Linked DNA regions of Homo sapiens: all the other regions are linked to region 5. The links are contacts of gene promoters, found by promoter capture Hi-C in blood cells and fetal thymus (Javierre and others, 2016). All regions are on one chromosome and are shown on one strand. The core of a region is centred on a gene start or on the middle of the fragment in contact, and the rest is flanking DNA. Distances in the headings are between cores, read along the strand shown.

Region 1 (2,991 bases), core at 62-2,561, 720 kb before region 5:
ATATGCAATATGAATGTGCTTATTTATTTCTCACAACCTTTTGAGGTGGGTATTGTTTGGACTCTAATTTGGAAAAGAAAGTGTGGTGTTACTTATCCAATCAGATTCTCAATTAGTAGGAGAAAAAGCTATCAGAATATTATCTACTCAACATGGAACACACACATAACTGCCTTCTCTTAACTATCTGGTCTCATGTGCTTTAGTCTAAGGTATATAGAAACTTGGGTAAGAATTGTTAAAGGGAGATGTTGAAAGGTTCTACCAGAAGAGTATCATGATCATATCTGAATTAATAGATACCAAATGAGAAAGAATAAAACTAGACTTAATTATTCAAACAGTGTTTACAATAGTTTAAAGTGAATAGCTAAAGATTCCTGAAAATGGGAATCACACTTAAAATATATACTTTAAAAAAATATATTTTTAAAACACACACAATTTTTAAAATGCATACATACATGCTTTTCCTCAGTTCCGCCCTTCCCCCTCATCTTCATACCTATTACAGATGGAGTCGTTGTCATGCATTCCTTGTAAGGAATAATTCTGAGAAAATCAAAATAGTAAAGTCACATCTAAAAATATGTGAAGGTTTATACCCCAGAGGAGCTGCATGATTTAAATAATTAACAATGACAAAATATGGGAAATATATGTGATTATGGATAATGAAGGGTGCTTAACTAAAGACGGAATAATATAATTTTATATCAGGCTAACTATTGACATGGCTTCACTTACCTGGGAAGCTAGATTCTATGTGTAATAGTAAACACCTGGGAGGAATAGTGATTGTTTACAAGGCTGACTGGTATCTGGACTCAGAACTGGCCATCAGTAAATCAACTTGAGATCCCAAATATGCCTTGGAATCACACAAAGGAAAACACCAAAAAAAAAAAAAAAAAAAAAAAAAGGAGGTAAAATTGCTGGTGTACGTTGATATTGCTTGACTTATTAAAAGCTAACTTTATTCACAGCAGAATTGCTAACTTTTTTCTATTCACAGCAAAATTGCCATTTTTGAAGAAACCAGTGCATTTTCTAATTTACTTGAAGCTGTAAGATTTAATAAAATTAACGGACTGGAATTAGAAAGTGTATTCAGGGATTGGTCTGTCTGATTCTATCTGGTACTCCTGTAGCTTTGCACTTGCGATTTCCCAAGCCCAGAGTGTTTGTCCTACCAGCCTCTCCTTGGGTAACTCCTATTCATTCTTCAATTTTCATAATATGGCACCTCCTCAATGAGGTATTCTCTTATTCTTAGTTCTCGTTATGCCTTCTGGGTTTACCAGATCAAGTTCTTTTTTTATTTTTTTGAGACGGAGTCTTGCTCGGTAGTCCAGGCTGGAGTGCAGTGGCGCGATCTTCGCTCACTGCAACCTCCGCCTCCTGGGTTCAAGTGATTCTCCTACCTCAGCCTCCCAAGTAGCTGGGATTACAGGCGCGTGCCACCGCTCCCTGCTAGGTTTTTTGTATTTTTTCTACAGATGGGGTTTCACTGTGTTAGCCAGGACAGTCTCAATCTCCTGACCTCGTGATCTGCCGGCCTCAGCCTCCCAAAGTGCTGGGATTAGAGGCGTGATCTTCCGCGCCCAGCCCAGATCAGGTTCTTAAACTCCACATCATCACCGCTTCTCAGCCTTTTGGCTAAGACCAAGTGTTTTCAGCCTTTTGGCTAAGATCATCTGTTCTTATGGGTTTAAACTCCATGTCAATGACTATATTTTGAAAGTAAATATCTTATTTGTATTTTCATTTAATATCTGTAAACACAGCAGCATATAAGCTAAAAGAGGTCAATATGTCAGCCAGTGTCCCATCAGGAGAGATTAGTCCTTCAAATTGGGTACTTTGGGCCTGATGCAGTGACTCATGCCTGTAACCCCAACATTTTGGGAGGCCGAGGCGGGCAGATCACTTGAGGTCCAGAGTTCGAGGCCAGCCTGGCCAACATGGTGAAACCCCGTCTCTACTAAAAATACAAAAAAATTAGCCAGGCGTGGTGGTGGGCACCTGTAATCCCAGCTACTCAGGAGACTGAGGCAGGACCTTGAACCCAGGAGGCGGAGGTTGCAGTGAGCTGAGATTGCACCACTGCACTCCAGCCTGGGTGACAGAGCAAGACTCCGTCTCAAAAAACAAACAAACAACAACAACAACAACAACAACCAATTGGGTGCTTGAAGATTGAAAAAGAAGTGAGCAAGGTGTTAGGAAGCCACAAGAGATAGTGCAGTATTTTGAAGCTAATACCATATATAAGTAATTACCACACCTAGGCCCAAAGGGGCAATGAGAGGAAAGGAAATCTGGAAACAGAAAGAACTCCTTCCTCTCTCTGACATATTTTCACTTTTCATCAGCCAAATTTGACCAGCAGCCAAAGGACAAGGATCAAATTCATGTATAGATCAGCCTCCTAGGGACACAGGATGAAAGAAGGGGACAGTGGGCCGGGCACGGTGGCTCACGCCTGTAATCCCAGCACTTTGGGAGGCCGAGGTGGGCATATCACAAGGTCAGGATATCAAGACCATCCTGGCCAACATGGTGAAACCCCGTCTCTACTAAAAATACAAAAATTAGCTGGGCATGGTGGTGGCCGCCTGTAATCCCAGCTACTTGGGAGGCTGAGGCAGAAGAATCGCTTGAACCTAGGAGGCAGAGGTTGTAGTGAGCCAAGATTGCACCACTGCACTCCAGCCTGGGTGACAGAGCGAGACTCTGTCTCAGAGAAAAAAAAAAAAAAAAAAAAGAAGAGGACAGTGAATCTAGGCTGGCAAAAGTAAATATCTAGCACAGTCCATCCCTTTTGCCCTTTGGCATGTACTATCCTTTTCTCAAGTGAAAAGTCTGCATTGCATTCCAACATGGAATTTGTGAAATCACAGCCAGCTCATGGGGGTGATGCCAGTTTGTTCATAATCCTACTTTAAAACTAAAATGTTAGTCTTCACCTTCCTAGAATGTACTGGGGTA
Region 2 (2,700 bases), core at 197-2,696, 760 kb before region 5:
TTTCTGACTTGTCCTATACTACCTCTTCCTTAAATACCTAGTAATTTGACTCTAGAACAAGAGTTTACCATATAAGATTTTCTTTTCATACTGCAATAGTCCTCTCATATTGATTTTTTAAAATTGAAGATCCTTTTTCATATACAGTTATGCTCTTTTCTTTATAACCTTCCTTTATACAATCATTCTTTATGACCTTCCTTACCAAAAATACATCTCCACATCCATAACTTTCTTCACATCTCTCTCCTACTTATAGATTCCTTATTTCATAGCCTTTTCTAATCCATAATTTGAATCAACCTTTATATAGTTTCTGAATTTGACAAAATTATTATCTCAATAAGAACACATTTTAACTAAATATTTTTATTTGCCACTTCAAAAGTTACCTAAGCCTCTTCCATGGAGATGGTAAGGTGTCCAGTGGGAGCTGTGGGGGACCTTGGGCCCGGTCAGTCTTGTTTTCTTGGCCATTATGGGTTTGGGTAGCCTAGGCTCCCTTTGAAGCTTGGAACAGTCCCTTTTTCAATGGCCCTCTTGCTTACAGAAGGCACAGTGATATTGGCCCTGGGGCCAGCAAGTTCGGGGCTCTCATCTGGGCATCTGAGATGCTGATCTCAAATCTCCTCAGGCTGGCTAACCCTGAGGTGGGAGAGGGTGCTTAAAGTAGTCACTAACAATTGCATTTTGGATATTATTTCTTTTGGTTATCTCTGCCTGTTTTGACCTGTGCCTATTGTTGTAAACTGGAAAGGCCATATTTAAAAATTGGCTTATAGGAGTTTGCGTTTCCCCTTTCTGCCTGTTATAGCTTCCTCCTAACATCAAGGACAGACTGAGTGATAAAAGAGTTTGCCTTTCTGGGGAGTCTGTCCTGCAATATTTCCTGAGTGCCTCAACCAAACAGCCCTGACTAGAATAGGATTTTTATCCTCCCCTACAGTTACTTCTCTAACCTTGTCATAATTAACTGGATTAAGCACACTTTCATATCTTCTATTAAACAAGTTACCTATGATTTCTACATTTGAGATCTCAGGAACCCCTCTGGTAATCCCATGGGGGTCCAAATCTGGAAGTACACTCCCACATACAATAAATGGCATGATCCTGGTTACAAGCAGCCATTCCATCAGCATATGCCCAGGCAGTATTCAAAAATCCCTTGTTTCTCCTCTACAGCACAGCAGGTGGACACTATTTGCAAGTCATGCCAAGTTACATCAAACTATAAACTTCCCTGGATCCTCTGATACCAGCCAATGTTTCCCTTGCATGAAGCTAAATCAGACATGGAAAAAGGCACAAGTACTGTTCCCGCCATTAGCAACGTCTCAACCTCTCACAATAGATGTAAGTTTGATTTTAAGGGCTGATAGGACTTTATCACTCCTGATTAGACTGGTTGGACTTATTTCCTCAGGCAGTATGGCATATAGGCTGGAGCTAGTTGGTTAAAGCAGAGGGGTGCCTGATGAACTTGGGATGGAATCCTGTAGTGGAGAACTGGCAGGACCCCCTTCCTCATATTAAGGCACCAAGGAGGCTCCAGGGAGAGTGAACCATTTTTAGGCCAAATTTCTTGGGAAATTAATTTGTACTAAACACTGTTATAATAGAAGATGAGTTTTTAAGACATCAAATTTGAATTTGCTTTAGTTGCCTAAAAGGCACCCTAGCAGGAAGTGTTTCAGGACGCTCACTGTTGTTATGTCTACCAGAGATACCTACTAAACCCAGAAATTCTTCCAAGTCCAGAGAGTCCAGTTACTTTTCCTTTCAAATTTCCACCTCCCTTTTCTTCAAGAGCAGTAGGGAAATTACCACTGACTCCTGCCAAAAGAACATGGGTATCAAGAAGTAGGTGCCACAAAAGTGAAAGATGAGTGGGCAGTGGGCTGGCAACTACCATCACTAGCTAATGGAATGTTACAAAGAAGGCACTTTAAGTATGGAAGTAAAAAAACGCTGACCAAATTAAGAACCCTTAGTGGAAATTTAAACCCCAATCTTAGAAAGGTGACCAAAAAACAAAGCCCCTAGGGCAGGACTCTCAATTCTAACGCCACGTAGAGTGGGACTGACAATAACCCAATAAATTCCCCCTAGAGTGGGACTCTAACCCAATCCTAGAAGGAACATGGCTCTGACATACAACCATGCATTTAGGAACTGAATGGTAATATCAAGTAGCCAGTCATTAGAGATTTAATAGACGATGGTCAAAAACGGGGCAATGGGGACATAATCTGAACATGGGACTAGCTGGAGGCCCCACTTTCATTTCCTGGTTTACCCAGAAAGGTCAATATGACAGGGAAATCACAGAAACCACATGGTGCCAATTGGCCATTAATTTGGGTCCAGGCAAAGGTTTCCAAAGCTTCAGTGTACAACCAGTTAGTCACCAAGAAAACATGGCTCTGAAAAGAGCCTTTGGCTAGTATATAGCATTACAGTATCACAACTCCAAACTTTATCTTGATGGTCAACCCGCTCATCTTGATGCTCCCTTCATGGTCTCTTCATTTTGATGGTTCCTTCCTTCAGGGTCACCAGGCTGACACAGGTGAACCCCAAAATTGGGACTTAACCCTGGAGGGCTTTTGGCTTCAGAGTTAATTTAAAAACACTTCCTAGACCAATAGTGTACAGCAAACTGCTCCATAAACAAAGGGCGACCTGTGTGCTAACCCA
Region 3 (3,049 bases), core at 3-2,502, 600 kb before region 5:
CTTGTTTGTTTTAACTATACTTAGCACTAATATGATCCTGAACACATTTCTTTTCTTTTGCTTTTTTTTTTTCCGGTGAGACGGAGATTTACTTTTGTTGCTCAGGCTGGAGTGCAATGGCGCGATCTCGGCTCACTGCCTCCCAGGTTCAAGCGATTCTCCTGCCTCAGGCTCCCGAGTAGCTGGGATTACAGGCATGTGTCACCACTCCCGGCTAATTTTGTACTTTTAGTACAGACGGGGTTTCACCGTGTTGCCCAGGCTGTTCTCGAACTCCTGACCTCAGGTTATCCGCCCCCTTGGCCTCCCAAAGTGCTGGGATTACAGGCGTGAGCCACTGCGCCCGGCCAATCCTGGACACATTTCTACACCTTCTTCCTGAATTCCCTGCTACAAATTCGAAGCGAAACTAGGCAATCGGTATGTAGATTGTCTAGTTGGGGCATACTAGATTCTGGAACATTGTTTTGGGGGTACAAGTAATGACGTAAAGGGAATGTGATAGAATCAGGCGGGAGAAGGAAGGGGCTGAGGGGACAGCACGGAGAAGGAGCCAACAGTGGCCTTATTTTGTGCACCTAGGAGAGTACAACACGGGCAGAAACACCTGAGGGACAGGAACTAAGACACGTCATTCTGTCTGGAGATTAAGACTGAGCTGCAGAGTGGTACAGGGCGAGTAGTAGGAGATGAAGTCTGAGGAAGAAAGAACATTTATCAATACATGATGCAAAACCCTCTAGTAGATTACTATAAATGAATCAGAATACTTGATGGTAAGTGGATGGGGCACTAAAAATAAATTGGCCGGGCGCGGTGGCTCACGCCTGTAATCCCAGCACTTTGGGAGGCCGAGGTGGGAGGATCACCTGAGGTCAGGAGTTAGAGGCCAGCCTGGCTAACATGGTGAAACGCCATCTCTACTAAAAATGCAAAAATTAGCTGGGCTTGGTGGCGGGCGCCTGTAGTCCCAGCTACTCGGGAGGCTGAGGCAGGAGAATGACGTGAACCTGGGAGGCGGAGCTTGCAGTGAGCCAAGATAGCGCCACTGCACTCTAGCCTGGGCGACAGAGCAGGACTCCGTCTAAAATAAATAAATAAAAATAAAAAAGGAATTATCAGGTGTTAATTGATCTACATTAAGTCTAAACTAAGAACTATGATCACTATAGGCCAAGTTAAGGATTTTTGAATTGGTCTTAACAACAATGGGAAACTATGCAAGGATTTTAGGCAGAAAAGTCACATGGACGGATTCACATTTTTAAAATTTGTTTATTATTTATTTTTGAGACGGAGTCTGACTCTGTCTCCCAGGCTGGAGTACAGTGGAGCGATCTCAGCTCACTGCAACCTCCACCTCCCGGGTTCAAGCGATTCTCCTGCCTCAGGCTCCTCAGTAGCTGGGATTACAGGCATGCGCCACCACACTCAGCCATTTTTTTTTTTTTCGTATTTTTAGTAGAGACGGAATTTCGCCATGTTGGCCAGACTGGTCTGGAACTCCTGACCTCAAATGTTCCACCCGCCTCGGCCTCCCAAAGTGCCGGGATTACAGGTGAGAGCCACCGCGCCCAGCCAGATTCACGTTTTAAAAAGATCTCTTTAACTTTGTGTAACAACCGCACAGGTCCAGTTCTAGACACTTGACAGGCATCAGGGAACTATAGCAACACATCACTAGTACCGGGCCAATGAAATATCTGCCCTCATAGAGTATGGAAACAGATATAAATAACAAACATAATAAAAATGTGAATTATAAAATGTGTAAGAAGGTGTTAAATGTGATTGGTAAATAGAGGCAGGTAGGAAGAACTGGAGTGATGAGAGTAGGTTGGAAAGCTAGAGTTGTTAGTATAGCCTTAATAAGATTGTGACTGGAAGAAAAGGAGCAATCAAGCCACCTGACATGTGAGGTGTCACAAGCAGAGTACAACCACTATAAAAGTCTAAAGGTGGGTACTTGCATGGAATGTTTGAGGAACAGTAAAAGGGTTCATGTGGCCAGAGTACAAGAGAGGGAGACAGTAATAGAGATGAGATCAGAGAGAAATGAAGGATCGGAGTATATAGGATCTTGTAGGAGATCTTAGGAATTTGGCTTTAATTCAAGTAGAACGGGAAGCTATTGTATAATTCTGATTTTAGGAGAGGCAAATCTGATACATGCTTTAAAATACTGCTTTTAGTAGGTCTTTTGTAAATAGACTATAGGGGACTATATTCGGTTTTATATTCAGATTGCATTAGCCGGGCGCGGTGGCTCACGCCTGTAATCCCAGCACTTTGGGAGGCCGAGGCGGGCTGATCACGAGGTCAGGAGATTGAGACCATCCTGGCTAACATGGTGAAACCCCGTCTCTACTAAAAATACAAAAAATTAGGTAGGCGTGGTGGCAGGCGCCTGTAGTCCCAGCTACTCGGGAGGCTGAGGCAGGAGACTGGCGTGAACCCGGGAGGCAGAGCTTGCAGTGAGCCGAGATCGAGCCACTGCACTCCAGCCTGGGCGACAGAGCGAGACTTCGTCTCAAAAAAAAAAAAAAAAAAAAAAAAAAGATTGCATTAGGTTATTGTATTCTATGAGAAACAGACTCCAGGATATAGTTTTCATGAAGGAAGTCTATTGTGTATCCAGGAATGATATACAAAAGAGGACTCAACCATTCCCATGGGGAGCTCTGGAGCTACAATGATCCTTTAGAAATGTCCTGAATTGGGGAAAAGGAGCTGGGTCATTGTACCCACTCATAGACGTGGCTTTAGATGTAGGCTGATCCCAGAGAAAAGATATAACCTTAAACAGGGTAGCTTTTTAGCTTAGAACAATTCCTGGGAAGAGCTGAGCTTTGAGTTAGCAGCAAACAGCACTCCAGGATGTTGGGTGTCTGAGTACCTTGCTCCACAAAACATTGGGCAATGTAGAAAACCATTGGGTTCTAGGTAGAACACCATCATATCCATTACAGTCTACCACTTGCTCTACTCAGAGCCGCTTCCTTCATATAATGAATTCATCCCACCTGGGAATAACTTTTCTAGGATTCTG
Region 4 (2,837 bases), core at 316-2,815, 670 kb before region 5:
CCTCAGGTGATCCTGACCTCAGCCTCCCAAATTGCTGGGATTACAGGCGTAAGCCACCGTGCCCGGCCTTAAAACATTTTTAATAAGCCCACAGAGTCATTTAGCAAAGGAAGCCCACTCTTCCTTCATCCTGCAAAGTTAGTATACAGCTGCCAGAAAGAAAGACGGCTAAACTTCATCCTCTGCAAGCTATCTGTTTTTTAAACATTATCCTTATGGCCTAAGCAAGGGAGAAAAACATCTTTTCTCACCAAGTTCATGGCTGAGGCCTCTATAACAAAATACAGATTAAACAAGAGAAAAGCATACAAGTGTATTTAACATAAGCTTTGTGTGATATGAGAGACTAGAAATGAAGACCTAAAGAAACAGGGAAACATTTGTAGTTTTATGATAGGTTGACGAAGAGAAGATAGTTATGCAGAAGTATAATTGTACAAAGAGGGTGTGATGTAAGGATAATAAACTGGGGGAATTTAGCAAGGCTTACTTGTTCAGGTTCTTCTGTGTGTCCCTGTGTCTTCAGAGAAAAACATGTTCCTTTCCTCCAGTTATAGGAAGGGCACCTCTGGAATGAAGATCTCCTGACCTGCTTTAGGGGAGAAGGGCTACGGAAAAGTGAGAGTGACCTACTTGCTTCTGTGGTTTTGTCAAATGTCAAGATGTCATATCTCGGGGTAGCATGTTCTGAACCCCATCATCTGAATTATCTTATTTAGTTATTTACTTGGTGGTTGCAAGAAAGCTCCCCAAAACAGGAACTCTGTTTTATTCATAACTATATTTCCAGAGCTTTTTGCCACAAATTCCTATGTAGTGTTTGCATTTCTGATCACTTGCTTGAATTACCTCTACTATTGTTTATTCCAGAACTACTCCTTTGGCTTCTGCAATATCAGTTGTCCTGACTTTCTTTCTATTCCTCTGATACTTGTCATAGTCTTCTTCATAGGACCCTCTTCTCATAAAATTGCAGGATCGAAACTCTTTTTCTTTTTTTTTTTTTTTTGAGACAGCGTCTTGCTCTGTCACCCAGGCTAAAGAGTGTAGTGGTGTGATCTCGGCTCATTGCAACCTCTGCCCCTCAGGTTCATGCGATTCTCCTGCCTCAGCATCCTGAGTAGCTAGGATTACAGGCACGCACCATGACGCTTGGCTGATTTTTTGTATTTTTAGTAGAGACAGAGTTTCACCATGTTGGTCAGGCTGGTCTCCAACTCCTGGCCTCAGGTAATCCACCCACCTGGGCCTCCCAAAGTGCTGGGATTACAGGCGTGAGCCAAGGCACCCGGCTGAAACTTCTTTTAAACCACTTAGATTGGAATGCTGCTGTTGAAATTGAATTGGGTGATCTTTACTATCTCTTGAAGAGCTACTTTTAAAAAATAGTAACAGTTGTATTAATCAGGGTTCTCCAGAGAAACAGAACCAATAGGAGGTGTGTATATACAGAAAGATATTTATTTTAAGGCATAGGTTCACACAACTGTGGAGGTTGACAAAGATTATTTGTTTGGTCAAACTTTAGTCAGGCTCCTGAACTGTCTCCAGGGCCCATCTGTGTTCTTCCTTGTAAAACCAGTTTTAGCAAGAACCCTGATAAATCAGTTTAACAACAATCCCCTACCCTTGATATCTGCTCCCCCTCCATAGCTGATCAGGTTCCTCATCCTCCACCATCCCCCAGGTAAGGTCTGATGGCCCTGGCCTGTCTTCAGCAAGAATCCTGTTAGGTCTGTTCAGCCAGAATCCCCTTACCCCTGATGCTTCCTCTTAGTAATTTTCCATCCACTGACCACCCACCACCCCGATCCTTGGCTATAAATTCCCACTTGTCCATGCAGTATTCAGAGTTGAGCCCAATCTCTTCTCTACTGCAAGACTCCTTTGTGGACCCTATTACCTACCATGGTGGTCCTGAATAAAGTCTCTCTTACCATGATTTAATAAGTGTCCTTAACCGAAGAGCCTCAGATCGCAGCCCGCTGCCACCTGCGTCCTGGGCTAAGAGGCAGCATCAAGGATAAGGGGCATTCCGGCTAAACAGACTTAACAGGATTCTTGTTACCTGCCCGAGGTCCTTGTCAGTTCTTAAGGACAGGTGCTTTGCATTATCCTCCAGCACTCTCCCACCCACTGCAACATTCCCCTCTCACCATGCAGGTGGTAAGTAAATTTTGGTTGAAAATATTTATCCAGCAAGAGATGAATTGCCCGGCTAATGTCACTGCCGGACGCCCGGGTAGTCGCCACTTGGTTTAAAGGCGGAGCTGTTCTTGCATTTCAAAGAAATCCAGATTCCGAAAGTAAGTAACAACCATGCCCGTGGCCCGGTTCCTTTCTCTTACACTCTTCCAAGGACCCCTTTTAGACCTAGAGGAAACCCCGCAGAAGTGACAGGGAGAGGGGGAAAGCTCTTTTACAGTGGCGAAACCACGTGGCTGCGAGAGCTTCTCAGGGAGAGCTCCTGTTTTCAAAGTCTGGCAAATTTATCAGTTTGATTTTTCTTAAACATTTATATTTTTATGGAGTAGAAAATCTACCAAACGAGTAAAGAATGTTTCCGCCTGGTTTCAAACCGGGGACCTTTCGCGTGTGAGGCGAACGTGATAACCACTCCACTACGGAAACAACTGTGGGAAAGGGTTACCCACATCCCCCCCGCCCCCATCCCCACCCCGCCGCTTAACTAAGAGGGCTTTGCCTGAAGGGCCTGGACTGCCTTATACGTCTGTTTAGAAAATGATCGTTGTGGTGCAGTTCTCTCCTTTTACTGTTTTCGAAAAGAAAAGCAATTCATAACCAAGCTTCCCCAGGGCTCCAATTCCCGCACAAAT
Region 5 (3,008 bases), core at 164-2,663:
CTTCCGGATTAGCAGCTCGGTCGACTTCTGGTAGCGGCGGATCTCGCGCAGGGCCACGGTGCCGGGGCGGTAGCGGTGGGGCTTCTTGACGCCACCGGTGGCCGGAGCGCTCTTGCGAGCCGCCTTGGTGGCCAGCTGCTTGCGCGGCGCTTTGCCGCCGGTGGACTTGCGAGCTGTTTGCTTTGTTCGTGCCATGGCTAAGTAGACGTACCTACTCAACACAAATGAGAGAAAAAAACTGATCATCCCGGTATTTATAGCTGCCCTCGCGTTCTGATTGGACAGTAGACTGTGCCATGCCACGTCTCACACACGGAATTGGCTCCCAGTTTAATCTGCTAGTGAAAGGGAGACATTCCGCCTCTGTTTTGGGTCAAGAAACGTAAAATGGTTTTGCTAGCTAAAGAAAAACAAAAACGGAAACAAAAAAAAATCCCCCAAAAGTCTAGGATTTTTCATGCATCAAAATCCTGTTTAAATATAAGCTTGATAAATCTAAACTTGCCTTGCACTATTTTAATTACGAGGTGTCATTACTGATTTGACAAAAAGTTAAAGAACGTAAAGGAAAAGTGAAACTAGAGTAAATTTGTAAATGGAGGCATTGAAGGGGATATGAAATTCGAGCGTTGTGGTATGCCAGTATTTCTCAAATTTAAACGTACTTAATGTTTTAGAAGTTGGCCGACTTTTTCTGTAAAGGGCGATATTAAAACATTTTGGGCGTTGCGGACCACAGTGTCATAGTTACACAGCCCTCGCATTGGTAGCGGTAAAGTAATCGATACAAGATAAATGAGACCGGCTGTTTCATTATGACTTTTGCAAAAACCAGAGAGGCGTTATAGATTTGGCCGTGTATCAGAGAAGCCGGCACTTTTAACCACTAAGTAATGCTGAAAGGGGCACCGAACCTCAAACTTCAGCGACTGCTTATGTGGAATCGCTAATTTGCCAAAACTGCCATACGTTTAAGTGTTCTTAAGAAATTAACTATCTTTAGTCTACAGCTCTTTCACAGACTTCATGGGTGGCCCTGAGAAGGGCCTTTGAGGAACCGTGTAAGTAAGTAAAACACTCAGCCGCCAAAGCCATACAGGGTGCGGCCCTGGCGCTTGAGCGCGTAAACCACGTCCATGGCTGTGACTGTCTTGCGTTTGGCGTGCTCCGTGTAGGTAACTGCATCGCGGATTACATTCTCCAAAAACACTTTAAGAACTCCGCGTGTCTCCTCGTATATAAGGCCTGAGATGCGCTTAACGCCTCCACGCCGTGCCAGGCGTCGGATGGCGGGCTTGGTGATGCCCTGAATGTTGTCGCGCAGAACTTTGCGGTGGCGCTTAGCGCCTCCTTTGCCCAGACCCTTCCCGCCTTTGCCGCGCCCAGACATGTCTTGTACTAAACAAAATGCAACACGGCAAGCCTCGCAGCAGTACTTTATATAGTAATAAATCGGACCTGATTGGGAACTCTCCACACCAGCTGCATCCGGTCGGCCGATTCACAGACCTTGCGCCCTGCCCACGACTTCAGGAAAAAATGGAAAAGGGGGTACTTAAACTCCAGTTTCTAAAAATGATGCCCAGTTAAAAATTACTCAGCTCATCTTGCCCTTCTACAGTGTTTTAGGCTGACCACCGCTGCATTCCATTGTCTGGGTCTTTGCAGCCTGTTTTTCCTGTCACCTCTTAGCATCGATTGTTCTAGTGCTTTGTGGCTGCTGGAATCAAATGGCGCCATCTCTAGAGGGGTAATCACAGTCGTTTCGGGCATTTGTGAAATAGCGTGTAGAAACTGCTTCCGTACAAACTCGAAGTGATCAGCCTATGGAGTGGCTGACTGCAAAAGACGACGCCTGATGATAGCTCCAAGGTGGGATTCCTCACCTTTCTCAAATTTGGTTCTCTATTCTTTTCCTTATATTTTACTCTTTCTGTAGCTGTCCTTTCTGTTCCTTTCTCTCCCTCGCCAACCACATTTTTGGGGCAAGAACTTTCTATTTTTTTTTCCTCATTCCACCTAGAAACACTTCAGGAAGCTGTTTGAGAAAGAAAGGTGGCTTTTACCCTGTATTTCCTTAGAATTGTGAAGGTGCCGCTTGAGCTCCCTCATGTTCCTCTTTTCTGTTGAACTAGGAAATCAGCTGTGCCCAGAAACCCTGTCTTTTACATTTACAAATAAAGTGCAGGAGGAAAAGACCGAGGATGACTTTATTCCAAGAAAAAGAGTTTCAAATGGCCGGACGCGGTGGCTCACGCCTGTAATCCCAGCCAGAAGGGAGGCCGATGCATGTGGATCACAAGGTCAGGAGTTCGAGACCAGCCTGGCTAAGATGGCGAAACCCCTTCTCTACTAAAAATAAAGAAAATTGGCCTGGCGTGGTGGAGGGCGCCCATAATCCCAGCTACTCAGGAGGTTGAGGCAAGAAAATCGCTTGAACGCAGAAGGCGGAGGTTGCAGTGAGCCAAGATCGAGCCCCTGCACTCCATGCACTCCAGCCTGGGCAACAAAGTAAGAGTCCGTCTCAAAAAAAAGTTTCAAATAAATGTTGTGTGACCTTCCTGACCTAGGCTGGCTCTGCCTTGCCCTGCCTTCCAGCTATCAGATTTCGTTTCTCAGTAATGTTTACCTTTTATATTTCAAATGTGTATGATTATTTACCTCTTTAGCAAATATCTAATTTTATTCTAAAAATCAGTCTCTGCAAGTACATTATGAACTACTCTATGATTACTGTATGTGCAAAACATTACATACTCATGTTGTAATAGTTAATCAGTTTCTCACTGAGCTAGGCTGGCCTCTTTTTCCTTTTTTTTTTTTTTTTTTTTTTTTTTTTGACAGAGTTTTGGTCTTGTCACCCCAGGCTGGAGTGCAATGGTGAGTTCTCTGCTCACTGCAATCTCCCCCTCACGGGTTCAAGCGATTCTCCGCCTCCCGGATTCAAGCGATTCTTCAGCCTTAGCCTCCTAAGTAGCTGGGATTAAAGGCACCCGCCACTACGCTCG
Region 6 (2,715 bases), core at 94-2,593, 690 kb before region 5:
ATGATAATTAAAGGGATTCAGGAATCAGTTCCTCCAACCCAAAACATTTCCCAAGCATTTAATGTACAGCAAGAGAAAGATGAAGGGCCCATGGAATTCTTAAACAGACTTAAGGAACAGATAAGAAAATACGCAGGTTTGGACATAGAGGACCCACTAGGACAAAGGATGTTAAAGCTCCACTTTGTCACCAATAGTTGGCCAGACACTATAAAGAAATTATAAAAGATAGAAAATTAGAAAGACTGTCCCATAGAGGAACTTTAAAGAGAGGTCCAAAAGGTATATGTACGGAGGGATGAGGAAAGGCAGAAGCAAAAGGCAAAAATTATGCTGTCCACCCTACAACAGGGAACTTTTCAACAGGCATCCCAGGGAAATAGAACTTGTAAACCTTCTGAGTACCAGGCTGCCAGACCCTATACAGGAAGCAAAGGGACGAAACCTGAGAATCAGGGAACCAGGAGGGGGAGAAGGAAAAACAGATGTTTCAGATGTGGAAAGCCAGGACATTTTAAGAGGAAATGTCCCGAATGGGAGAGGGAAAAGAAAGTCCTTTCACTCATGACATTTGAAGAACAGTGGGCTCAGGGGCTCTACGTCTTCCATCTTGAGTCCCACCAAGAGCCCTTGATAAATTTAACGGTGGGACCCAAATTGGAAATAGTCACTTTCCTGGTCAATTCGGGAGCAGCTGGCTCCTGCCTATGTTTTCTCCCATCAGATTTATCCTGTTCAGCCGAAGACCTTACTGTCTCAGGAGTTAAAGGGGAAGGATTCAGAGCAAAAATTCTAGAGGAAACCGAAGTCAAATATAAGAATAAGTCGGTTGCTACTAAGTTCTTCTTAATTCCTGAAGCAGGAACTAATTTATTAGGAAGGGACTTAATGTTAAGGTTAGGCACAGGCCTATATGTTAATCAAGGAAAACTCCTTACTTCCTTAAACGTACTCACCACTTCAGAAGAAAGCCGCATCCATCCCAACGTATGGTCGAAAGAAGGGAATCGAGGATGGGTTCCTCCAATCCATGTCAAATTAAAAACTCCTGGGGAAATAGTGAAACAAAAACAATACCCTATTCCCTTGGAAGCCAGGATAGGTTTATAACCTATAATTGAAAGCCTTGTCCACGAAAACAATACCCTATTCCCTTGGAAGCCAGGATAGGTTTAAAACCAGGATAGTTTTAAAACCTGTAATTGAAAGACTTGAACCCTGTATGTCCCCTTATAACACTCCAATATTGCCTGTAAGGAAGTCAGACGGGTCATACCAGCTAGTGCAAGACCTCTGGGCTATTTACCAAATAGTTCAGACCATCCACCCTGTTGTTCCCAATCCTTACACCATTTTCAGTAGAATCCCGCATAACCACCAATGGTTCACGGTGACAGATTTAAATGATGCCTTTTGGGCTTGCCCTTTAGCAGAGGACAGCTGGGACAAATTTGCCTTTGAGTGAGAGGACCCTCACTCCGGTCGATGGACAGTCTTGCCCCAAGGTTTACAGAGTCCCCAAATCTATTTGGTCATATTTTAGAGCAAGTCCTAGAAAACTTCTCCCTGCCTTCATCCATATGCCTACTCAAATACGTAGATGTCCTGCTCATTTCAGGAGATAACAAGGATCAAGTAACAGCAATTTCAGTTAACTTCCTAAATTTCCTAAGGGGACAAGGATTACGGGTCTCAAAGAACAACATCCAATTCATAGAATCTGAGGTAAAATATCTAGGACACCTAATCAGTAAAGGTGAACGAAAGATAGGATCCGAACGAATTGAAGGTATCCTGTCTTTGCCTTTACCTGAAACAAAGCAGGAACTTAGGAAATTATTAGGATTGGTTGGATATTGTCATCTGTGGACTGACTCTTATGCCTTAAAAACAAAGCCCCTATATCAAAAACTCACTCAAGAAGGACCAGACCCCCTCCTTTGGACCCCATCAGAGATCCAACGGTAAAAGAATTAAAACACCTACTTGTAACTGCCCCTGTTCTAACTTTGCCCTCCTTAGAACAGCCATTCCATCTTTTCATTAATGTAAGCAAAGGAGTGGCCTTAGGGGTACTCACCCAAAAACATGGAGGCCACCGGCAGCCTGTAGTCTTTCTGTCAAAAATCCTTGACCCAGTAACCCGTGGATGGCCCGAATGTGTTCAATCCATAGCAGCAACTGCCTTGCTAACAGAAGAAAGCAGGAAAATAACCTTTGGGGGAAACCTCTTCGTAAGTGCCCCTCATCAAGTCAGAACCATTCTTAATCAGAAGGCAGGGAGATGGCTCACTGACTCAAGGATTTTAAAATATGAAGCTATCTTATTAGAGGGAGATAACCTAACACTAACCACTGACAATTCACTCAACCCCGCTGCTTTCCTAACAGGAAATCCAAACCAGGAGGAATGTGAGCATAACTGCTTAGATCTAATCAGTTTTCAAACTAGAGTCAGACCGCATCCAGGCATGAAACCCCCTTCCAAACAGGGCATCACCTCTTTATAGACGGCTCCTCCCAGGTCATTGAAGGAAAAAGGCACAACGGGTACTCCATAGTTGATAGGGAAACCCTCACAGTGGTAGAGTCAGAAAGACTGCCAAATAAGTGGTCTGCCCAAATATGTGAACTCTTTGCATTAAACCAAGCCTTAAAATCCCTGCAGAATCAGGAAGGAACTATTTACACTTACTCCAAGTATGCCTTCGGAAA

Evidence for each region. The method cuts DNA at HindIII sites, captures the fragments that hold promoters and counts their contacts. A CHiCAGO score of 5 or more calls a contact.
Region 1: a contact is called between a fragment that was not itself captured here and the fragment with the promoter of H4C13 in region 5, in 17 of 17 cell types (non-activated CD4 T cells, naive CD8 T cells, naive CD4 T cells and 14 more). The highest score is 26.4, in non-activated CD4 T cells.
Region 2: a contact is called between a fragment that was not itself captured here and the fragment with the promoter of H4C13 in region 5, in 1 of 17 cell types (activated CD4 T cells). The highest score is 5.1, in activated CD4 T cells.
Region 3: a contact is called between a fragment that was not itself captured here and the fragment with the promoter of H4C13 in region 5, in 1 of 17 cell types (naive B cells). The highest score is 5.1, in naive B cells.
Region 4: a contact is called between a fragment that was not itself captured here and the fragment with the promoter of H4C13 in region 5, in 1 of 17 cell types (total CD4 T cells). The highest score is 5.2, in total CD4 T cells.
Region 6: a contact is called between a fragment that was not itself captured here and the fragment with the promoter of H4C13 in region 5, in 13 of 17 cell types (activated CD4 T cells, total B cells, monocytes and 10 more). The highest score is 14.0, in activated CD4 T cells.

The regions. Positions count from the first base shown.
Region 1 is chr6:27,150,582-27,153,572 of GRCh38, forward strand. No RefSeq gene overlaps it. Among named protein-coding and RNA genes, the nearest start is that of MIR3143, 4.5 kb to the left of the region's middle. The HindIII fragment of the contact is 8,294 bases long and covers 1-2,991 here.
Region 2 is chr6:27,111,969-27,114,668 of GRCh38, forward strand. No RefSeq gene overlaps it. Among named protein-coding and RNA genes, the nearest start is that of TRS-GCT1-1, 16 kb to the left of the region's middle. The HindIII fragment of the contact is 1,876 bases long and covers 509-2,384 here.
Region 3 is chr6:27,276,392-27,279,440 of GRCh38, forward strand. No RefSeq gene overlaps it. Among named protein-coding and RNA genes, the nearest start is that of TRV-CAC2-1, 2.4 kb to the right of the region's middle. RefSeq lists a silencer at 91-261. The HindIII fragment of the contact is 5,617 bases long and covers 1-3,049 here.
Region 4 is chr6:27,203,530-27,206,366 of GRCh38, forward strand. TRV-CAC6-1 (tRNA-Val (anticodon CAC) 6-1) reads right to left here and starts at 2,631; the gene lies at 2,559-2,631. The HindIII fragment of the contact is 2,480 bases long and covers 326-2,805 here.
Region 5 is chr6:27,872,121-27,875,128 of GRCh38, forward strand. It overlaps H4C13 (H4 clustered histone 13), which reads right to left and starts at 1,414. Exons shown (of 1, transcript NM_003546.3): 1 at 1,028-1,414. The coding sequence starts at 1,390. The coding sequence ends at 1,079. It overlaps H3C11 (H3 clustered histone 11), which reads right to left and starts at 226. Exons shown (of 1, transcript NM_003533.3): 1 at 1-226. The coding sequence starts at 195. RefSeq lists enhancers at 976-1,613, 1,045-1,094, 1,395-1,564, 1,645-1,694. The HindIII fragment of the contact is 4,758 bases long and covers 484-3,008 here.
Region 6 is chr6:27,180,312-27,183,026 of GRCh38, forward strand. No RefSeq gene overlaps it. Among named protein-coding and RNA genes, the nearest start is that of TRI-AAT5-2, 4.4 kb to the left of the region's middle. The HindIII fragment of the contact is 7,682 bases long and covers 1-2,715 here.